4 separate regions of the Homo sapiens genome follow, and regions 1, 3 and 4 are each linked to region 2. Evidence: promoter capture Hi-C in 16 types of primary human blood cells and fetal thymus (Javierre and others, 2016). All regions are on one chromosome and are shown on one strand. Each heading gives the region's core, a stretch centred on a gene start or on the middle of the fragment in contact. The rest is flanking DNA. Distances are from core to core; before and after follow the strand shown.

The links. Contacts are between HindIII fragments. The CHiCAGO score rates a contact against its expected background, and 5 or more counts as called.
Region 1: a contact is called between a fragment that was not itself captured here and the fragment with the promoter of SYT15 in region 2, in 2 of 17 cell types (endothelial precursors and M0 macrophages). The highest score is 5.9, in endothelial precursors.
Region 3: the fragment with the promoter of LINC00842 here is called in contact with the fragment with the promoter of SYT15 in region 2 in 5 of 17 cell types (M0 macrophages, endothelial precursors, M1 macrophages and 2 more); the score reaches 7.4 in M0 macrophages.
Region 4: a fragment that was not itself captured here is called in contact with the fragment with the promoter of SYT15 in region 2 in 1 of 17 cell types (monocytes); the score reaches 5.1 in monocytes.

Annotation. Positions count from the first base shown.
Region 1 is chr10:46,413,160-46,418,272 of GRCh38, reverse strand. The region is part of intron 1 of LINC00842 (long intergenic non-protein coding RNA 842); the gene reads right to left. It also overlaps the pseudogene HNRNPA1P33. Among named protein-coding and RNA genes, the nearest start is that of LINC00842, 17 kb to the right of the region's middle. The HindIII fragment of the contact is 702 bases long and covers 1,841-2,542 here.
Region 2 is chr10:46,576,071-46,581,592 of GRCh38, reverse strand. SYT15 (synaptotagmin 15) reads right to left here and starts at 2,465. Exons shown (of 8, transcript NM_031912.5): 1 at 2,418-2,465; 2 at 1,225-1,429; 3 at 557-699. The coding sequence starts at 2,424. RefSeq lists enhancers at 843-1,722, 1,723-2,600. The HindIII fragment of the contact is 10,756 bases long and covers 1-5,522 here.
Region 3 is chr10:46,396,518-46,402,424 of GRCh38, reverse strand. It overlaps LINC00842 (long intergenic non-protein coding RNA 842), which reads right to left and starts at 4,063. Exons shown (of 4, transcript NR_033957.2): 1 at 3,632-4,063. RefSeq lists an enhancer at 5,188-5,803. The HindIII fragment of the contact is 4,014 bases long and covers 1,291-5,304 here.
Region 4 is chr10:46,432,356-46,437,864 of GRCh38, reverse strand. All of the region lies in intron 1 of LINC00842 (long intergenic non-protein coding RNA 842), which reads right to left. Among named protein-coding and RNA genes, the nearest start is that of NPY4R, 31 kb to the left of the region's middle. The HindIII fragment of the contact is 2,801 bases long and covers 1,307-4,107 here.

The DNA of each region.
Region 1 (5,113 bases), core at 942-3,441, 160 kb after region 2:
AGCTTTGGTGTAAGTCAATGACCCGAATCTCTGGAGAAGGGTGGGGAATCTGACTCTGAATATGTGGCCCAGGAGCCCTGCATGAAGGAGCTGGGGCCTGAAGAGTAACTCTGCATTGAGTACTAGGCCTCCAAATCAGATCCTGGCCAGCTGCTGTCTCTGATGGCTCCCAGTCCTCCCCTCAGACCCACGGCCGTAGGCCAGACTGGCAGGGGCAAGAGGCAGGAGCCAAGTGGGACATGTCCAGTGTCCTGGCCAAACATACACTGGACGCAGATGAGCCATATGCCTGGGAAACAGAGAAATGGGGTGAGGCCAGGTCTTCTTGTGAGAATGAATGTGCCTTACTCTCTCCTGGAGAGAGGGTGATGACAAGAGTTCATTCATTCATTCATAATTGCTTTTTGATTTAAGCAGGCGAGTTTGTTGTTTAACAGGCTGGGAACATCTCTCTTTTATTGAAACATGTGACATAGCAGGTTAAACTCCTAAAGATTCAGCACAGCAGATGAGAATCAAGGAGTTTCCTTCTTAAAAAGCATAACTTGCATATGAATGAAGATGATTCCAAATTATGTTTTTTCCCCATGACCCTAAAATTTTATCCCAAATGGAGTTATAATATTAGATATTGATCAGATCAGCATTTCATATCAAAGCTCAGGACATCCATCTAAATATTTAAAAATCTTTCACTCTCACAGCACATCTTGTGATCAATGTAAAACAAACAGATAGGAACAAATCAAATATGAGAGAAGGGTTTATGGTGAGAGAAAACAGTTTCTATCCTCTCCCCTCCCCAGTCCTGGCCTCACTCTCCAGAGGCAACTTCTTGTAAACATTTCCATTTTTAGTACTTCTGGTGGGTGCCTCCACAATGCTTAGTAGCATGTATAGGCACCCTTATTTTTTTATTCATCTGGAGAAAATTTATCTACCTCCTGTGATGGAACATAAGAAATGGCCTCATTATGCACCTCTGCTTCCTCCCTTCATCCTTCCAAAGTTTTATCATTTTGGCATAATTATTTTTAGTTTTCTGTTATTTACTTTTAAAACTTTAAACCATATAATTGTACTTTGATTCTGCATTCCATCCACCTCAGGGAGAGTAACGGTCTGGGGCGGTCAGGTTGGGTCTGTTCCCATACCCTCCCCTTCTTCTGAAAGGACTCTCCCCTCCCTCCCGGGGGCCTGTGCCCATGACCAGCCAGTCACAGGGCCAGGCATATGTCCTGGGCCCTGGCCACTGTGGGATACAGGCATGCTCCCCAATCTTGACCACTAGGAATCCTGCAGGACTTTCACTACTAAAACTGCTCTCTTCAGGTCACAACAGTAACTATCAGTTCAACTACAACAAAGGTTTCTGAAGACAATGGCTTCTCCACCCAAGCAGGTTGTATATAAATTCCAAATAGAACTTGGCATCACCCTGAAGGAATTCTAACTTCACACTGTTGGGGAAATTTACCAAGATAGCTTCAGAGTAAACTAACTTTACACAGCACATTAAAACAAAAGACATTTATTCAGCGTCATGATCAGACTATTACATTTAGCAATCAACAGCATGGGTGCAAAAAAAAAAAAAACCTATATTAAAACCCTTAGCTGGAATGCTTTACACTTTCCACAGAACAGAAACTAAAATAACCTGTTATACAGTTAGTCACAAATACAGTCCTCGAATTTTTTGCCCATACACATGAGTATTTGTCTAAAACATGTCTTCTTTGTAGCAGCTAGGCCCTGCCACCACTGTGCTTGGCTGAGTTCACAAATCTGTCGTAACCTGTAGATTCCCTGTCATTTCTCTGGCTCTCCTCTCCTGCTAAGCTTTGTTTCCTAATTAAAATCTGCCACTGCCATAGCTACTGCTGCTGCTGGAACCGCCAATAGCCACCTTGGTTTCATGGTTTTGCAAAGTATAGGCCTCCATTGCCACAGGGGCCAGAGCTTCTGCCTCCAAAATTTCCTCCCTTCATGGGTCCAAAATTTGAAGACTCATTGTTGTAATTGCCAAAATCATTGTAGCTTCCACCACCTCCAAAATTGCTTCCATCATTACCAAATCCATTACAGCCATCCCCACTGCCACCATATCCACCACCACCACGACTGCCACCAAAGCCACCAAGACCACTGAAGTTTCCTCCAATACCAAAGTTGTCATTCCCACTGAAACCACCTCCACGACCACCACCAAAGTTTCCAGAACCACTTCGACCTCTTTGGCTGGATGAAGCACTAGCCATCTCTTGCTTTGACAGGGCTTTCCTAACTTCACAGTTGTGGTCATTCACAGTATGGTATTTCTGAATGACAATCTTAACGACGGAGTCATGGTCGTCAAAAGTTACAAAGGCAAAGCCCCTTTTCTAGCCACTGACTCGGTCAGTCATGATTTCAGTCACCATTAAAAGGGATTACCCAAGCAAAATCATGGAATTATTGGTTATAAAAGTAATTGTTGGCACATCCTATGTAACATATCTAATTGAATAATGGTACCAGATTAAATTATAGATGGGAATGAAGCTTGTGTATCATCCATTATCATGTGTAATCAATAAACAATTTAATTCTCTTGAAAAAAATAAATAAAACTGCTCTCTTTTGTTCTGGGATTACCTCTAGGAAGGAAATGTAAAATCAGCTCTTGTAGGGTGCCTCCAGGCCCCTGACACGTGGAAAGATCGTGCAGGAGAAAACCAACCCAGAGGTCAGTGGAGGTGGAGAGGAAGTTGTGAGAGAGATCAAGCTGTGGTGGTGAGAAAGGCAGCTAGTCCTGCTCACTGAAGCCTCCATTGCTTCCGGACTGTCACAGTTACACCGACCTGACAATTTCAGTATTAGCATTAGAGAATTGTTTCAGCTTTCCAACTAACGCAGGGTGTATTGTACACCCCACCTCAGGTAAGATGAGAATTAGCACGTAGGCTGCCTGTGCTACTTTTCTGTTGCTGCTGTAACAAATTTCCACAAATTTATGATTTGCTTAGAGCACCACAAATCTTACAGTTCTGGAGGCCAGAAGTCCAGCATGGGCCTCACGGGGCTAAAATCAGTGTCACAGGGCAGCTGTGTTCCCATGAGGCGGCTGTGTTCCCATAAGGCTCCGGGTGGAGACTGTTTCCTTGCCTTTTCCAGCTTCTAGAAGCTGATGGAGTTCCTTGGCCAGCCACTTTCTCCCTCCATTGTCACAGCAGGTGTGGCTTCACTCTGACCTCTTCTGCTTCTCCCTTCCACCGAAGGGCCCCTGTGGTTACACTGGGTACACCTGGGGGCTTAGCCTGTCTAATATTGCCACACCCTCTTGTGAATCTTCTTTTTTCTTTTCTAAGAGATGGGGTCTCGCTTTGTTGCCTAGGCTGGAGTAGGGTGGTGTGACGGTAACTCACTGCAGGCTTGAATTCCTGTCCTCAAGCGATCCTCCTGCCTCAGCCTCCGAAAGTGCTGGGATTACAGGTGGGAGCCACAGTGCTAGGCCTCTCATGAACCCTGTCTTCCAGAAATGTGTTGGACTCTCATCCATTAGTAAGCCATCTTTCTCTCTTTTTTTAATGCTTTTCCCTTATAGATTTACTCCATTTTAAATTTATAAGCTTAAATTTCAGTGATGATGTCTTAGGAAGAACAGGAGAGGAGGAACAAAGGAACAAACCACTTTAATGGGAAGCTGAAAGGACCCTTTTAAAAGTGTGCAGTGGGGAGAGCCTGGGCTTGGTCTCTGGTAAACCTGGTGAATGGTGGGTTAACACTCCCTCCCTCACTCGGTGTTGCTGGGAGGATAAGACAGAACTTGTGGCGAGCAGGTGTCCAATAGCTGCCTCTTGCTATGTGCAGCCAGTGCCACATCCAGGCTGAGTGCTGTGGGGAGTGTGGCTCATCCCGCTGGGGCCACCCCAGGCCTCGCTCACTGGAGACTCCAGAATCAGGGCTGACTGAGCAGCTTGTGGCACTGAAGAATGTTCTAGGAAAGGAGGTGTGTCCTCCTTGGAAGGGGAAGCTTCATGGTGGGTGAGCTGAGGGTAAGGGGTGGGTGAGGGCCATTTGAAGAGTCACCTCCCCTACATTCTTTTATCTTTTGGAGCCTCCATCCACGCCACTTCAAACAATGAACACACACATCCAAGTCAGTAAGTGCACTTTGTGTATATCTATATAAGTGATGCGCAATTACTATATAACAGTTCACTAGCTGACCTGACATTATTCACATATCGTAGGCATGTGACTAATTGTAGGTGTGTAATGAAGTGTTCACATCTTATTACATATTTAATTCCTAAGGCATTTCTACAGTTTTATTTGAGAATTTTGGAACTGCCAGTATGTTTTTCATGTTTCAAACCTTTTCACAGGCCCTGAAAAAACCCAAAGGCCTTATATTCTGGGACCGTAATGGACAAAACAGCCCTGGGAAGTATGCTTGAGAGGATGGCGAAGGCTGGGTTTGCTGAGGGAGGTGCCAGCTAAGGTGCTGGGCACACCAGAGGCAAGGGATCTGGACCACAACTGTCAGTTTGACGAACACACTAATGGTGGAGTGACCCCCACCAGGAGTGGCCAGCAAGCAGGGTCCAACAGGAAAGACATCTGGGAGGCCAGCAGGTAGAATCCTGGCTCTGCCACCTTCGTGCTATGTGATATCAGCCAAGTTACTTGCCCTCTCTGATTCTCAAATGCTCGGAGGCCCTTTGACCTCTAGAGTCTATGGGACCTGAGTGACCACAGGGCTCTTGTTTGTTGGTGGCTGCCTCTTTATTTAACTCCTTTTCTCAAATACGGTCTATGGGCTTTGCTTAAAGTGAGGTGTCCTGTGCACACTCTTCTCCATGACTTTGAGGCCGTGAGAAGCCCCGCCCTGCAGAAGGACTGAGGAAACTAGTGCTGGAGTCTCCTTTCTTGTATCAGTGAAGGAAGGGGAGAGAGGAGATAAAGTGCTCAGGTTACAGAATGTGAGGATCATGCCCCTTTTTTCCAACTGAAGACATTCCTAGGCATTTTATCTCCCCTGTTGCAACTCCTAAATCACAAAAACCTTATGCATCCAGTTTGGCTGACATCCACCTGCAATGGGAGTGAGTGAGATTGAGCCACTCCT
Region 2 (5,522 bases), core at 1,216-3,715:
CCCATCACCTGGCCTAGCCCCCTTCCATGGCGTCTAGGGAATGACTCAGCGATAAAACATTGCCTTTCTTCTTCCTCTTCAAATTAGAAGGGCCAAGGTGATTATTGGGTGGTTCCTGTGATGGTCTCTTGGTAGATCTTCAGGGCAAAGAGGTGGCAGAAAGCTGTGTTTGCAGCCCCTACCATTCTGTCCTCTTGGTCAACCAACCCATCATCCTAGAGTGGGACCCAGCACAAGTTCTGTACATGGCGTGCCTGGGTTCCAATTCCAATCTGTTGCTTACAGCCTCAGTTAAGACTATGTAAAATGGGGTGATAATTCCTCCCCCTCAGAGTCATGGTGAGGTCTCACTCCAAATCAGCACCCAAGGCCATATCTTACCCTCATGGGGTGCAGCAAGCACTTCATAAATGAAAGCACCCAGAAAGAGTGGTCCCTGGGTGGTCCCTGGCATCCCTGGCTGGTTCAGGTTGTGTTCCGGAGCCAAGCTGGTGAAAGCAGATGGGGCCACCCGAGCAGACCCTGACCTCTGGGCAGCCCTGGCAAGGACACTCACCAAGGCCGCCGCTGGAGGTGTGAGGCAGCAGCTCTGATGCCGGGCAGGGGTCCCATGGGGCATCGGCCCACTCTCCACTGTGCAGGGGCACCCAATCTCGGCCTTGAAGGGTTGGGGGCACCACGAATGGCACAGCTGGTGGCCTGTCCAGAGTCAGGGAGACAACATGTAGGTGGCAAGTCAATGGTGTGGTCTCAGAGCGCTCAGCCAGGACGGTTGAGCACCAGGGGCTGGAGGAAGAAAAGCCATCGGGAGCCAGGAGGAGGCCAGGGCACCATTTTCTGGGCCCATACCAGGCAACACACACACACACACACGCACACACACACACACACACACACACACACACACACACAGCAGTGGGATTTGAAGAAGGAACACAGCACCTGACAGTGTCAGCCAGTCTGGGTTTGGATTCCTGTTCTGCCACTTACTAATTGTGTTCTCTGGACCTGTTGCTTATGTGCACTGAGCCTCAGATTCCTCACCTGGAACATGGGTTTCATAACACCTGCCTAATAGCTGATGTGAGGTTTCTGGGGTTTCTTTGTGATAGCTCCCAGCACCGAAGCAGCATAGAAGAGGCACCCCCATAAACAGAACTTTCCTTTTCGACCCCACCCTGAGGGAAATTCCAGGGGCGCACTTGGCCCCACATCCTGCCTCACCTGCTCAGTTGGGTCCTAGCATGCGGCTGGCAGGGCCTGTCCCGCTGCCCACTGGAGGCAGCTGTGGTGGCCATGGCTGGTGTCCCAGGCAGCTCCTCATAGGTGAGGGTGGCACAGAACCTTCTCCACAGACAGCAGCTTGCCCCGATCAACAGCAGCAGCAGCAGCCCCCCGATGGTGCCCCCAATCACCAGGGCCAGCTGCTCTGGGGGCAGAGACCACCAGTACTATGATGCCTGCCTGGGAAAGCCACTCTCCCTCACAGCCCTGGCCTGCTGGGGCAGAACTAGGGCAGCAACCCTGCCTCTGGGTTTGATCTCAGGAGTGATAGGAGCAGGCCTGCTGGGGATGGGTTCCGGGAGGGATGCTGCTGGCTAGGTTCCGCCAGCTCTCAGAGGAGAAGCCGTTTACCCCAGGGTCTGAGAGCCCTGGGCAGAACCTTCTAGTTTTCCTTGGAAAACAGCTGGCCCTGCCCTTGGGATTCTGGCTTAAAGAAGCCATTTCCTTGCGCTTCTGAGTAGAAATCAAACCTGCCCTCACCAGAACCTCCATATCCCCTGGGCTCCTGTTGAGGCCAGGAGGGGAGCTGGGGTGTGGACGCAGTCAGTTAAGGAAAGCCCTGAAAGGTACCTTCCCCCTGGTCTGCAATCAAACCTCTACCCTCTGGGGCCCTGGAACCTGCTGCAAGGCTGGACTCTTCTCTAACACCCGCTCCCTCCCCTAGCCCTCTATCAAGGTGAGCACGCGCTTAGGGGAGTTGGTGCGACGCGGTGGACGAGGTGGGGAGGAAAAGGGGGCAAGACCCCGTTGCTGCTGGCCCTCACACGTCCGCATTTGCGGGACCTAGGAGGCTTCGCCCCGGGGGTGCTCAGACGCTGGGTTCCAACCGCTGGCCACCTGGGGCGGGCCAAAAAGGTGCCTCCCTTAGGGTGACGTGCGGCCGCGGGGCATTCAGGTCTCAGGGATCTGCACTGGGTGGGGTGGTGAGAAGGCCGGACCCCCCACACCTCCTAAGCCGCAACTGACCGCGAAGAGCGGGCCTCAGCGTCTACTCCATCCCAGTGCCCCTCCAAGAGCGCGCCGAGGCCGGGCAGGGCAGGCGCTGCACCCCAGCGGGGGCGGCGGGGCGGAGGCAAGTGCTGGAAGGGTCGCAGAGGGGCCGGGGCTGGGCTGGGGAGGCGAGGCTCGCTTACCCGCCATGGGGCTGCTCCCGCAGGCTGGTCTCGCCGGTCTGGGCGGCTGGGGCTGGGCTGCCAGGCCGTCTCTTAAAGCGCCGCGGGGCGCCGTCGGGCGAGCACAGGGGCGGTCCGTGGTGCTGCTGGTGCCCAGCTGCGGCGCGGGGAGCCGCGCAGTGCACGGCAGGGGCAGGGACCCAGCGCCCCGAGGCCGCAGTCCCGCCCCAGCCCGTCCCTGGCCCAGGCCCAGGCCCGGCGGTGGAGGGGCGCAGAGCCGACCGTGAGCTCCCGGAAACCGCAGGGCTCCAGCCAGGGCGGGTCCCGGGCGCCAGGGGCGCCAGGGGCTCCCTGCGGCTTGGGGCAGGGTGGGGTGAGAGTACCACCCCCATCCCGGAGAGCAGGGCTACAGCCTTCACCGCCGCGTCTGACACAGGGCTCCGCACCCGACCCCTCACACCTGGTGGCCAGGACTGAGCCCCCGCCCTCCCAGATCCTCCTCAAGCCGAGGCCCCTCCAGCCGCAGCTCCGACCCCGGCTCGGGGGAGCCTTCCCGGATCCCGGGGTGGAGTCTCCGCGCGGGTCCCCGGCCCCAGCGCTGCCTGCCTGATGGCCTTGGGCAGGGATGCGGCGCTCGCGCACCCGTTCGCTCTCAGCGGACAAACCGGTCGAGAGCGCAATTCTGGAGCGGGTTCCAGAAGCTCCTGGGTTCCAATTCAGGCTCCTCACTCGCCAGCCCTGCGATTTGGGACAACTTAACGTTCGTAAGCTGGGTTCAGTCTTCTCAATTGGGTTAATGTCCGTGAGGGGCTCTCGTAAGGGCGGCTGGCCTGCCGGTAACTTAAGAAGCATGTAAAGAGCACTTAGAGCGGAGGAGCGGCGCGGCCCAGCCCCTGTTACGGTGGTTATCGGATGGAGGCCAGCGTCGCCTGGGTCCCCTCTGTACACCCAGCGCCTATTATTATGGTGATTATTAGAACGCAGGGCCCGTGCCCACTAGTCCAGGCTGGCGAACGCGCCTTGCGGGAAAGGCGGGAGTAAGGTCGCTGCGTGTCCTCTCTGGTCACACCTCGGCGCGCCCTGGTCGCGCCCCTATGGTTCCCCCGCCGAGGCCTCGAGGCGTCTGAGTGGGGAGCGAAAGGAATGTGTGTATCTGTGGTGCAGGGGAGTGTGTGTGTGTGGGGGGGGGGAGGGGGTGGTTGTGGGGGAGTGCGTGTTTTGGGGGGATGGACCTTCTCGTTTTACAGCCTTGAAGGTTATGTCCAGAGTCATAGCCTGGGTCCCACACCCCCGCGTCACCTGTGCCTGTCCTAGGGGGCAGTCAGTGTGCGTGAGGCTCCACCCTGCCTGGGCTTTGGCTCACCTAAGGCGAGGAGGGTGGTGAACTGGGGTGCCCCACTGGGCCGGGTCTGGGAGCCCTCAGCGCCAGGGTGCAGAGGCCGCAGCCACTCCCCTTCTAGGGTCTGGGCGGTGGGGGCATGAGAAGGCGGAGACCCAGGCCACTTCACCCAGTAACTGTCCTCAGCTGTGCGCTTAACTGGCGAGATCTCCGCTCTACTTGGAGACAGTCTGGGGTGTCTGGAGAATCCTCCCCCACTTCTGCTTACCCCAGGTCGCTGTGGGAGCAGGTGTCTCAGGAAATGGGGCCTGGGTCCCACCCAAGGCCTCGGGTCTGAGTTAGATGTCTGTATGTTTGTTGTTGCCCCTGCAACAAAGTACCACAGATTGAGTAGTTTAAGCCACATGCATGTTATCTCACAGTTCGGGGGGTCGGGAATCTAAACTGGGTTGGCAGGGCCTGTGCCTTCTGGAGGCAAGGGAGCTGTTTCCCAGCGTTTCCAGCTCCTAGAGGCTGCTAGCTAGTGGCCCTTTCCTTTGTCTTCAAAGCCGGCAGCACAGCCTTTTCTAACCTCTCCCACTCCAGGTCATTTCACATCAACTCTTTCTGCCTCCCTCTTGTAAGTGTGATACCCTACCTTGTTTTAACCTGAATTGACTGTCCCTTAGCTGAGAGAGCCAGACACACTCCATTTTGGCTCCTTCACTTGCAGCCCCTTACCCACCCCCCTTCCTCAAGGACTTAACTTGTGCAAGCTGACTCCCAGCACATCAAAGAATGCAATTAATGGATAAGATACTGTGGCAAGCTATATCCGCAGTTCCCAGGAATTTGCCCAGTTGATAGTACCCTAAGCCCCCACATTTGTGTCCGGTTGATGGTACCCAAAGCCCCCGCATCTATCGCCTTGTGATGGATTTAAAACCCCTGCACCTGGAACTGTTTGTTTTCCTGTAACCATTTGTCTTTTAACTTTTTGCCTGTTTTGCTTCTGTAAGAGTGCTTCAGCTAGGCTCCTCCTCCCCTTTCTAAACCAAAGTATAAAAGAAAATCTAGCCCTTTCTTCAGGGCCGAGAGAATTTTGAGCACTAGCCGTCTCTCGGTTGCCGGCTAATAAAGGACTTCTGAATTCATCTCAGAGTGTGGCGTTTCTCTATAAGAGGCTCATCAGATAATCCAGGATAACCACCACCCCCATCTCAAGATCATTAACTTAATCACACCTGCAAAGCCCCTTTTGCTATGTAGTCACGGGGTTGGGGATGAGGACTTGATATCTCTAGGACCATTGTGTGGACCATGTTGTCCATGCAGTACCCTGGGAGGGGTGGCTTACATTTCCCCTTCCTCTGTCTAGAGTTCAGTGTGCCTCAACACTGGACTCAGGCAGCTAGCAAGGCTCAGGGGACCCCTACATGGAACCCGTCAGCTATCTTGACCCCTTCCCCCAGCTGCCATGCACCCCCACCTGACCACCCCAATGGGGCATGGCATCCACACCAGCTGCCTCCATGATTGCGCCCGAGCTGTACTCAGGCTGTTCTGGGGGTGGAGTTGGGTAGTGGGATGTTTTTTGAAAAGGGAATCCCTTCTGGCACTTCCTGAGTGCCAGGCCCAGAGCTGCCATCTCTCGACCCCCATGCTGTGCTTTTCCAAAGTCCCCATCTTTCTCTGTGTCACCAAGTCCTGACAGCTGTTCCTCCTCTGTCCATCTCTATCATGGCAAAAAACCTTGCCCAGCCCTCCATCACCTCTCATCTGGAGCTCTGCATGGGCCTCCTCTCAGC
Region 3 (5,907 bases), core at 2,814-5,313, 180 kb after region 2:
ATGCAGTGACCTATGATCAAGGCACTGCACTCCAGCCTGGGCAACAGAACAAGACCCTATCTCAAAAACAAAATGAAACAAAACAACCCCCCCAAACCCCAAAGAAAACCAAACTTACTACCAACATCTAGTAATCAAGATAGCCCAATACTAGAAATGTAATAGAATTGAAAATCCAATATTAAACCTTCACATTTATGGTTAACTGATTTTTGACAAAGGTGTCAAGACAATTCAAGAGGATTAAAAAAAAGCCTTAACAAATGATGCTGGGACAACCGGATTTCCACATGTGAAGGAATGAAGCTGGACACTTACCTTACATCATGTACAAAACTTAACTCAAAATGGACCAAAGTTCTAAATGTAAGAGCTAAAACTATAAAACCATAGAGGCAAATGTTCATGACCTTGGATTGGTAAAAGGATTATTAGATATAATACCAAAAGCAGAAGTGACCAAACAAAAAAAAATAAGTGGGGCATTATCAAAATTGACAGCTTTTGTGCTTCAAAGGACACCATCAAGAAAGTCAAAAAGCAACCCACAGAATGGGAAGAAGTATTTGCAAATCATATATATATACATATATATATATATATATATATAAAATTTGATAAGCCACTTGTATCCAGAATATATGAAGAACTCTAACAATTCAGCAATAAAAGACAATAACCTAATTAAAACATGGGCAAATGATTTGAATAAATATTTGTCCAAAGAAGATATACTCATGATCAAAAAGCACCTGAAAAGATGCTTGACATTATTAGTCATTAGGAAAGTGCAAATAGAACCGCAATAAGATACAACTACACACCCATTAGGATGGCTTTCATAGAAAAAGACAGGCAATAAGAAGTGTTGGTGAAGATGCAGAGAAATTGAAAACCCCGTTCATTGCTGGTGTGAACATAAGATGGTGCTGTCACTTTGGAAAACAGTTTGGTAGTTCCTCAAAAAGTTGGGTGTAGTATTATCATATGACCAAGGAATTCCACTCCTAGATACATACCCAAGAGAACTGAAAACCTATATCCACACAATATCTTGTACAAGTGTTTTCAAAGCAGCATTATTCATAACACCCGAAAAGTAGAAACAATCCAAATGTCCGTCAACGAATGGGTAAACAACTGTGGTATTCCTTTCCAGTGGTAAGAGACAGAATTGATTAGGGAAATGAGGCAGATTCACTAAACTCCACTGAAGGATGGACCTGAGCCAACAGTTCACAGGAAAATGACACAAAAGGCCTTTAAATATATAAAAAGCATCATGTTTAAAGCTTCACTTGTCATCATGGGAAGTCAAACTAAAACACTGAATTACTATACTTTGTCCACCAGATGAGTGAGGATCAAATTTTGAAGATGTACTGTCTTAGTAAGAGGTTTAGGAAATTGGTATTTTCCTTCTGTACTGATGAGAATGGGGACTTCTTGACAAAATCTATCTTAAGTACAATTCCACATGCCCTTTGATCTAAACACAATATTTTAGGAGTCTATCCTATGATGATACAAAGTAATATAAGAATGTTTATTGCAATAACTTCCAATAACAAGCTACCGAAACCAGCCTAAACAACCAAAAACAGATTAAATGAGTAGAGATTGGTTAAATAAATTATGGTACATTCACAATGAAATCTTACACTGCTGTTAAAAAGTATTAATTTTTCCTAAAGATATATTAAATACATATAATTAAAAATAGAAAGAAGACTAGCATTAGACAAAAGCTAGAGAAGTAGGGAAAGTACATATATTTTTGCGTATTCCTAGAGAATTTCTAGAAGCATATACAGGAAACTTAACAATCGTGAGAGAGTTTGGAGAGGACTTTGGCTGGGGGTTCTGGAGTGGTGCAGAGATTTATTTTCACCACTTACTCTTTTGTACTACTTGATTTTCTAGAAGCATATGCAAGATGAATTTCTAGAAGCATATACAAGAAACTTAATAACTGTGAGAGAGTTTGGAGAGGACTTTGGCTGGGGTCTCTAGAGTGGTGCAGAGATTTATTTTCACCATTTACTCTTTTGTACTACTTGATTTTTATCAAGTGCGTGCATTACTTTTTTGCCTTTTAGGTTTTTATTTTATGTATGTTTAGACTTTTAAATTTTCAAATAATCATAGATTGACAAGAATTTGTGAAGGGGTCCCAATATCCTTCACCCAGTTTCTCCACTGTTTACGTTTTACATTCTACAAAACAATATCAAAACAAAGAAACTGACATTAGCACAATGTGTGTTCTTCTATTACATTGTATCACATGTGTAGATTCCTGTAACCACCAAGACACAAAACTATCCCATCATCCCAAGATCTCTCCTGCTACCTCTTTGTAGTCACACTTCCCCACCACCGCCTCTAACGCCTGCCAACCACTAATCTGTTTTCACTGTTTATAATTTTGCCCCTGGAAGAATGTTATACAAGTGAAATCGTACAGTATGTGACTTTTTGAGATTGGTTTTTTTCACTTAGCCTAATGCTCTTGAGATCCATCCATTTAGTTATTTGCATGAATAATGTTTCTTTTTATTGCTGAATATTGGCATAGATGTGTCACTTAGTTTAAGCATTCACTTAGTGAGGGACATTTTGGTTCTTTTCTAGTTTCTGGCTATGATAGGAAGACACAGGAGAAAATCATCTGGACCTAGGAGTTGAGGATGAGTTCATAGGCATGGCACCCAAGTACGATTCATTAAAGAAAGAATTGATAAATTGGACTTCATCAAAATTAAAAACTTTGCCTCTGCAAAATATTCTGTTAAGATGATGAAAGGACAAGCTATGGAGGGGAGAAAATATTTGCAAACTGCATATCTGACAAAGGACTCACATTTACAATGCATAAAGAGCTCTCAAAACTCAACAGTAAAAAAAAAAATCTGATAAGAAATTGGGCAATAGACATGAAGAGACATTTCATGGCCGAGTCAAATCAGCATGTGGAAATATATTTAACATCATTAGCCTTTGGGGAAATGCAAATTGAGATCATGAGAAATCACTGCACACTTATTTGAGCAGTTGAAATAAAAATATAATGATAAAACCAAATGCTAGCAAGGATGCAGAGAAACCAAATTTCTCATCCCTTGCTTGTGAGAATATAACATGATACACACAGCCACTCCCAAAAATAGATTGACAGTTTCTCAAAAAACATGCACTTACCATATTACTCAACAATCACATTCCTGGGCTTTTATCAGAGAAATTATAATTTAAGTTTGCACAAAAAGCTACACACAAATGCTCATAACTGCTCTATTCGTCATGTTTTTATTGGCAGGTAATTTACATACAAAGAAATTCAAAAATCTTAAATTTCACAATTCAATGTGTTTTGTCAAATGCCTGCACTCCTGTCCCTCCCCCACTGTAAGATTTACAACACTCTAGCACCCCCAAAAAGTTATTTCATGCCCCCTTCAGCTAACCTCTACCATGCCACTCCATCCATAAACCCCAAAGCAACTATTAAAAAAAAAAAAAAAAGGCAAAAACCGCAATTACTTTTGCACCAACCTAATACTAGTCTGATTTTTAAATCACAGATTCATTTTCATATAAATGGAATCATACAATGTTTATTCTTTCATACCTGACTTCTTTCATTCAGGAACACGATTCAGAGCTTCTGCTGTGCAGTAGGGGACATCAATAGTTCATTTTCTTTTTATTGTCTGCTAACATTCCATTGTATGGATTCAACCTAGTCTGTTTATTCATTCTTCTTACTGATGAAGTTTTTTTCTCACGGCTTAAGTCCAAGGTGTGTCTTTTTCGTCCAGCCAGGTGGCCCCGGCAGGTCGCTCCTCAGGGACCCACATGGGTCAGGGCGGTGCAGCAGTGACCCACAGGGGCCAGTGCAGTTGAAGTGGCTTTGAAACCTGATTGGAGAAACAGACTGCTCAGCTGTTAAGAACACACAGCGCTCCAGAAAACTGGTGTTCAACACAACGCGTCACTCCGGCTTCCACTGCTGCTGCGGAGAGTCAGGTTCTCCGGCAAGGCCCCGCGCGCCCGCCCCCGCGCGCCCGCTTCTCTGTCCAGGGAACGCCTTTCTGCGGGCGGAGGCGGCTACGAGGGGGCGCTGCGAAAGCGGATTTCCAGGCACGCCTGGCGCCACTAAGCGGCGCTGAGACGGCGCTGCCTCCTGACTGCCGGTTGGAGGCTACAGGGGCTCTGGGGCAAGGGCCGCTTTTAGGAGTTTGCTGGTCACGAGGGGGGACGCGACCTCGTCCAAGATCTGTCTGCAAGGGACCCTTCCCAGCCGATGTGAACACAGCCCGGGGAAAGGGGTCTTCCGGGGAGCAAAGGCAGCCCGGGAAGAGGAGTAGGGGCTGAAACCAAAGGCAGCCTGGGTACCCAGGTTTTCCCAGGGGACAAGTCCCCCAGTTAGCTGGGCACAGGGAGGCATGGAGAGCGGCAGCAACTGCGTTGGGATGGGGCGGCTGCCCCAGGTTGGGGCGGTGACCCATGTTCCACCAGGCCAGGCGCAGGGCTGAGGTGGCTGACTCCTGTTTCACAAGTGAAGACCTGGTCACCCCAGCAGCAAGGCATTCCGGAGTGGGAGAATTCCTGAGTCCTGGGGAGGAAGCCGTGGTTACAGGGCTGTGGCCCTGAGCAGGAGCTGGCTGGCCCAGCAGGGTGGGCCGAGCACTTCAGTCAAGGCTGAGCGCCAGGCACCAGGGACTCAGGTCTGAGAGACCTGATGTACATCCTGCTCCAGAGCAGATCACAGAGATGCGCCCGCATGAATCCCCAGGCTAAGCCCAGAATTCCGTGGAAGATGCCCATGGGCCAGGAACACGGGTAGTCACCGCGCTAGGGCATCACACAGGGCCCCCCTTGGCCAAATACCACGAGGGAACTTAGACACCTGCATGGGGCCATGGAAGTGCCTGCAACCTCACACTCAGGCCTAGGGCTTACCGAGGTATTGCAGATATTTGTGTTCTCAGAGTAGGAGCTTAGGAATCAGTATCTTCTCTTCGCTACAGGGACAGAGATGCAGTGGCCTAGGACACATCACAAATATTTAAAACGATGTCCTTGGTCAAGGACAGAGGTAGCCAAGGCCAGCCTTCTCCCAGGAAACTAACCCAGGACCCCAAAGCACAGAGCTGTTAGGTGGGAGGGAATTGGTCTGTATGTCTCCCTATAGTGTTGCAACACTTCGGCGCTGGGCTCCCTGTCCCAGACTCACCTTCTATACTCAAGCCAGAGGCCTACGAAAGCCGGGTTAAGATCTTCCCCTGCCTGTCCCTGTAAAGCTTCCCCACTGTCTCTGGAAATCATTTGAGCTTCTTAGCCCCACAGCATGAGCCCGCTCTGACTCAGGCCCTGACAAGCTCTTTCTCTTCTGTCTCTCCCTCCTCTGTTGATATGGACACACCATTCCTTTGGCATGTCTAGTACAGACCAGATCCCCTGCTGTTGTTAGCATTCCTCCCTCTCCCTGGAATGTTCTTCCTTATCTGTCTACCTGATAAGCACTGAGTCATCCTGCAAAACTCTGCACAGCTTTCACCTTCCCTGAGGAGCCTCCCCTGGCCAGCCCCACCCTGTTGCAGGCAGAATGCTTGGCGGTGGGTTGCTGACCACAAATCCATTCCCCCTTTATTCCTTGCCAAGGGAATGCTGATTTTGCTCAGGTTGTCAACCCTCAGGGAGGTGACCCTAAACATGCCAAGTCCAACACACTAGCTCTACCCCCTGAGAGCATGAGAACAACACGGATGGGCATGTGCCCGGATCTGGCTTTGCCCTCATGGACTGCAGGTCAGGGGTGGGAAGCTCTTATAGAGCAGCCCCAGGAGCCCTAGGGGCCATCCTGCTGGCCATGCCATGGCAGTGTCAGAACCCCAAACAGCA
Region 4 (5,509 bases), core at 1,458-3,957, 140 kb after region 2:
AGGCAATTCTCCTGCCTCAGCCTTCCGAGTAGCTGAGATTACAGGCATGTGCCACCAAGCCCAGCTAATTTTTGTATTTTTAGTAGAGACAGGGTTTCACCATATTGGCCAGGTTGGTCTTGAACTCCTGACCTTGTGATCCACCCTCCTCGGCTTCCCAAAGTGCTGGGATAACGGGCGTGAGCCACCGAGCCTGGCCCACAGTTGCTAACTTTTAACACACAGGACATTTCATGTAAAAATTGTGACTTGCAGCTTCTTTTGAAGAATCTGAAGTCAAGCAGCCCTGGCCTGCATTTGTGCATGGCTACCTTTGTGGGATCTTGGTCACAGCTGACCCTTTGGGTGGGCATGCTACTCTTCAGTTAGTTGGGCCCTCTTCACTAGTTTTTTCACTAGTTTTTAGCACCTGCTTGCCCCTGTTAGCAGGTATGGACTTTTACCTGAACACTCAGATTAGAAAGAGATGGAAAAACCACATGGCCTTGCAGAATAAGGGAGATCTCATCTCCATGCAATGAGGAATCAGTGGCAGGCCTCTTTGCAGAACCTCCCTGGAAGGGAATTGCTATGGTTGCATGTGTCCCACAAAGTTTATGTGTTGGAAACTTAATCCCCAATGCAGCAGTTTTGAGAGGAGGGAGTAATGTACAGAAAAATATCCAGAAATCTGTACAGTTGATATGGCTTGGCTCTATGTCCCTACCCAAATCTCCTGTTGAATTGTGGTCTTTAGTGTTGGAGGAGAGGCCTGGGGGGAGATGATTGGATCATAGAGGCAGATTTCCCCCTTGCTGTTCTTGTGATAGTGAGTGAGTTCTCATGAGATTATCACTTCCCCTCCTGCTCCACCATGTGAAGGATGTGTTTGCTTTCTCTTCCCCTTCTTCCATGATTTTAAGTTTTCTGAGGCTTCCCCAACCATGCTTCCTGTACAGCCTGTGGAACTGTGAGTCAACTAAACCTCTTTAACTCATAAATTACCCAGTCTCAGGTCATTCTTTATAGCAGTGTGAGAACAGATTAATACAACAGGGTTCCCCATGGATCTGTTATAAAAATTAGGTTGTGGATGTCTATCATAAAACTCCAGGAGGCTGGGCAAAGGGTGATTGGAAAGCAGTGAGCAGGCACTTTCAGAGCTCATGTGGGACATGGGGGGACTCCTGCATTCCTACCAGCCAGAGTGGAGCGTCCTTGTAGAAAATCTGGTGCGTTCAGTTGACATCCCAGAAAAGTCATGTCTTGGCAGGAGGAGTAAAGAAGCCCTAAATAAAGTCTAATCTAACCCCTTTCCTTCAGTCAAAGCTTCAAAACAAACCTCAAAAGGGTCAGGGTAATTTCTAAGTAACTCAGCTGGCTGCCAGAAAAATATCTACCAATCTTTAGAGGAGGACAACAAAATCTAGCATTAAGTAAGGTATAATTAACAATGTTTGGTGTCATATAAGAAATACAGACATGTAAAGATGCACAGAAGTGCAACTCCTACCAAGAGAAAAACCAGTCAATAGAAACACACTCAGGAATGATGGATGTTGGAAATAGCACACAAAGGATTGAAAACACCAATTACAGATATACACACGAATTTAAAGGAAACATGAAAGTAATCATCAAAGAAGGAGAAAAATTAAAAAGGAAATACAAGGGCCAAAAATAAAAATCTTAAATAAAAAAATTTCTTTATGAAATGAACAGATTAGACGTGAAGAAGAAAAGATCAGTGAACTTGAAAGTTGCAATAGAAACTTTCAAAACTAAAATTCAGTCAAAAGAGACTAAAAAGAAAATTTAAATGAATCTTTAGTAACCTGTGGGAAAATATTCATGCAAGTATATGGATCACATACTTGTAATTGGAAGCTGAGAAGGAAAGGAAAGAGGGAAGAGAAAAAATATTTGAATAATGGTAAAAAATGCTCCAAATTTGATGAAACATACAAAACCACCCATCCATGATGCTCAATAGATCAAAAGCAAGATAAGCACAAAGAAAACTATGCAAGGTAAAACATAATCCAATTGCTAAATGCCAGTGGCTAAGAAATGTGGGTGGGCTTCATCAAATCTATTGAAGATCGGAATAGAACAGACAGACTGACTCTCCTGCAAGTAAGAGAGAATTTCATCCTGCCTGACTGCTTTGAGCTGGGAGGTGGTTTTTTTTTTTTCCTGCCATTTTTGAACTGAAGTATCAGCTTTTTATGAGTCTTGAGCCTGCCAGCCTTTGAACTGGAAGTACACCATTGGCTCTGCTGTTTCCAGCTTACTAACTGCAGATTTTGGGACTTGTCAGCCTCAATAATCATAGGAGCCAATTCCTTACACACACACACACACACACACACACACACACACGTTATGCATATGTACAAAATTATATATAGTTATATATTATATTTAAGTATAATCATATCTATCTATTCCAAAATTGGGTCTCTAATCTGATTACATTTTAAGTTGCTAATAACTTTATTTCCAATTGTAAAGAGAGCACTAATAGTCCATGGCATGATCTAGCAATAAAGATATCACCACTGGATACTCCTAATCAACCCCTTATAAGAGACAAGGAGCTGGGTAACGGTGTATACTTTCAATTATTTTCCTCACACTAACAAATATAATAAGACTCACCAGGTGTTTCTAATGTGAAGTGATACTAAGTGGACAAAGGATGAAAAACACTTAATGGTAAGTATGTGGGTAAATACAAAGGCTTTTCTCATTTTTAAATTTCCTTAAAAGATAATTGATTGTTTAAACAAAAATAATAACAATGTACTGTGTGGCTTATAACCTATTAAAGCAAAATATGTAATGATAGCATGATGGACAGAATGGAGGAAACGGAAGTATATGGTTGTAAGGTCTTACATTGTACATAAAGTGTTATAATAGTATATTTGTAATGAGCTAATGATACATATTGTATACCCTCATGCAACCACTAAACATGAAGCCAGAGTTATAGCTAATGAACTCACAGTGGAGATAAAATAGAACCATAAACATTTTTAATTCCTCTAAAAGAAATCAAGAAAAGAGAAATAAAGGATGAAGAACAGATGAAATAAACAGAGAACAAATGACAAATGGTAGATTTATACCCAACTATACTGATAATTATATAAAATGAAACTGGTCTAAAAATTCCAATAAAAAGACAAATATTTTTAGACTGTATAATAAGGCAAGACTCAACTCTATGTTGTCTGAAGACCTCAATAATTTAAAGGCACAGGTAGGTCAAAAGTAAGAGGATGGAAAAAAATATACCATGTAGCACCAATTATAACAAAGTTGGAGGGGCTAGTTAAATATCAGAAAAAGTAAACTTCAGAACAAGAAATATGCAGAACAAGAAATAAACGAGAACATTTCATAATGATAAATTTATCAGAAAGAGAAAAATTGTAAACATATATTCACCTAATAATAGAACTTCAAAATATGACAAAGAAATGGACAGAAATGAAGGGGGAAGTAGAGAAATCTACACTTATATTTACAAATTGTCATACTTGTTTCTCAGTAACTTATAGAACAAGTAGAAAAAATGAATAAAGGGGAAGGACACTTGAACAATATTACTAACCAACTTGATTTAATTGATGCCTATAGAACCTTCTACCTAAATACAGATTTTTAGGTGTAGTGTTCTATATCCTAGGAATGCAAAGTCAGTTTAATCAACAGCGCAATAAATCAATCAATGCAATTCACCGTATTCGTAGAATCCACATTGTTTCCAACTGAACACAAAACTTTCATTATAATGGACCATATCTGGGGCAGAAAACAAGTTTATACATTTAAGAGGACCAAAATAATATAGAACATGTTATCTAAATTCAGTGGAACTAAAATAGAAGTTAATAGCAGAAGGATATCTAGAAAATCCCCAAGTATTTGGAAACTGAGCAACATACTTTTAAATAATACATGGATCAAAGAGAAAATCACAAAAGATATTTTAAAATAATTTTTCCTAAATAAGAATTAGAACACAGAATATCAAAATTTTTGTAATGATTAGAGACAAATTTATAACTTTAAATGATTTTTATTAGAAAATATAAAAAGTCCAAGGTCAATGATTTAAGCTTTACTTTTAGAAGTTGGAAAAAGAGGAGCCAATTAAACCTAATGTAAGTAGAAGAAAGGAAATCAAGTTAATAGCAGAAAACAATGTAATAGAAAACGGAATAATAAAGAAAGTCAATAAGATAAAAAGTTCTTTGAAAAGATCAATAAAATTGATAAACTCCTAATAAAAAGTCATAAAACAAACTACCAACATCACTAATAAAAGAGGGAATAAAAATTACAGACTATGTAGAGATTAAAGAAATAATATGGGGATATTATAGAAGCTTTACGGCAACAAATTTGACAACCCAGAGGAAATGGGAAAATTTTTCAAAAGAAAAATTACTAAAGCCCAGTGAAGAAAAAATAGATAACCTGAATAGCTTTATAACCATTAAAGAAATTAACTTTGTAATTAAAAACTTTCACACAAGGAAAATTCCAGGCTCCAGTGACTTCTCTAGTGAATTCAATCAAATATTTAAGGAAGTAGTAGTATCACTTTTATACAAACTTGCAGAAAGTAAAGGAGGAGGAAAGACTTTCTAACTTAATTTATGGGATCAGCATAATCCTGATATCAAACTCAGAGAAAAGATACTACAAGAAAAAAATCTTATAGGCCAATGTCCACAAGGAATATACATGCAGCTGGGCACCATGCTCACGCCTGTAATCCCAGCACTTTGAGAGGCTGAGGTGGGTGGATCACTTGAGGCCAGGAGTTCAAGACCAGCCTGGGCAACATGGTGAAACCCCATCTCTACTAAAAATACAAAAAATTAGCTGGGTGTGGTGGTGTACGCATGTAATCCCCGCTATTCAGGAAGCTGAGGCAGGAGAATCACTTGAACCTGGGAAGTGGAGGTTGCAGTGAGCTGAGATCGTACCACTGCACTCCAGGCTGGGAGACAGAGCAAGACTCTGTCTCCAAAAAAAAAAAAAAAAAAGGAATATACATGCAAACATCCTTAAAATATTTCAGTATGTTGAATCTAGGAATATATGTAGAGGGTAATACACTATGACCAAGAGTGCTTATCCTAGAAATGCAAAGTTAATCAGTGCAATTGACCAATCAATGAATGCAATTCTAGCAGTTTAAAGCAGAAAACCCAGGTGATGATCTAGATAGATGTTATAAAAGCATTTGACAATATGCAATACTCATTCACGATGTACTTTTTTTAAAAAAAATAAAATCCTCTTAAAACACTGGAGTAGAAGGGAAACTCATCAACCTGAAAAAATGCTGTCATGAAAAACCTACAGGTATTATCAAATTTGATAGTGAAAGACATAATGTTTTCCTCCTCAGGTTGGGAGTGCGGCAGGAATGTCCACTTTTGCCATGATCATTCAACATTGTACCAAAAGTCCTAGGTGGTGCAATAAGGTAAGAGGAAATACCGAC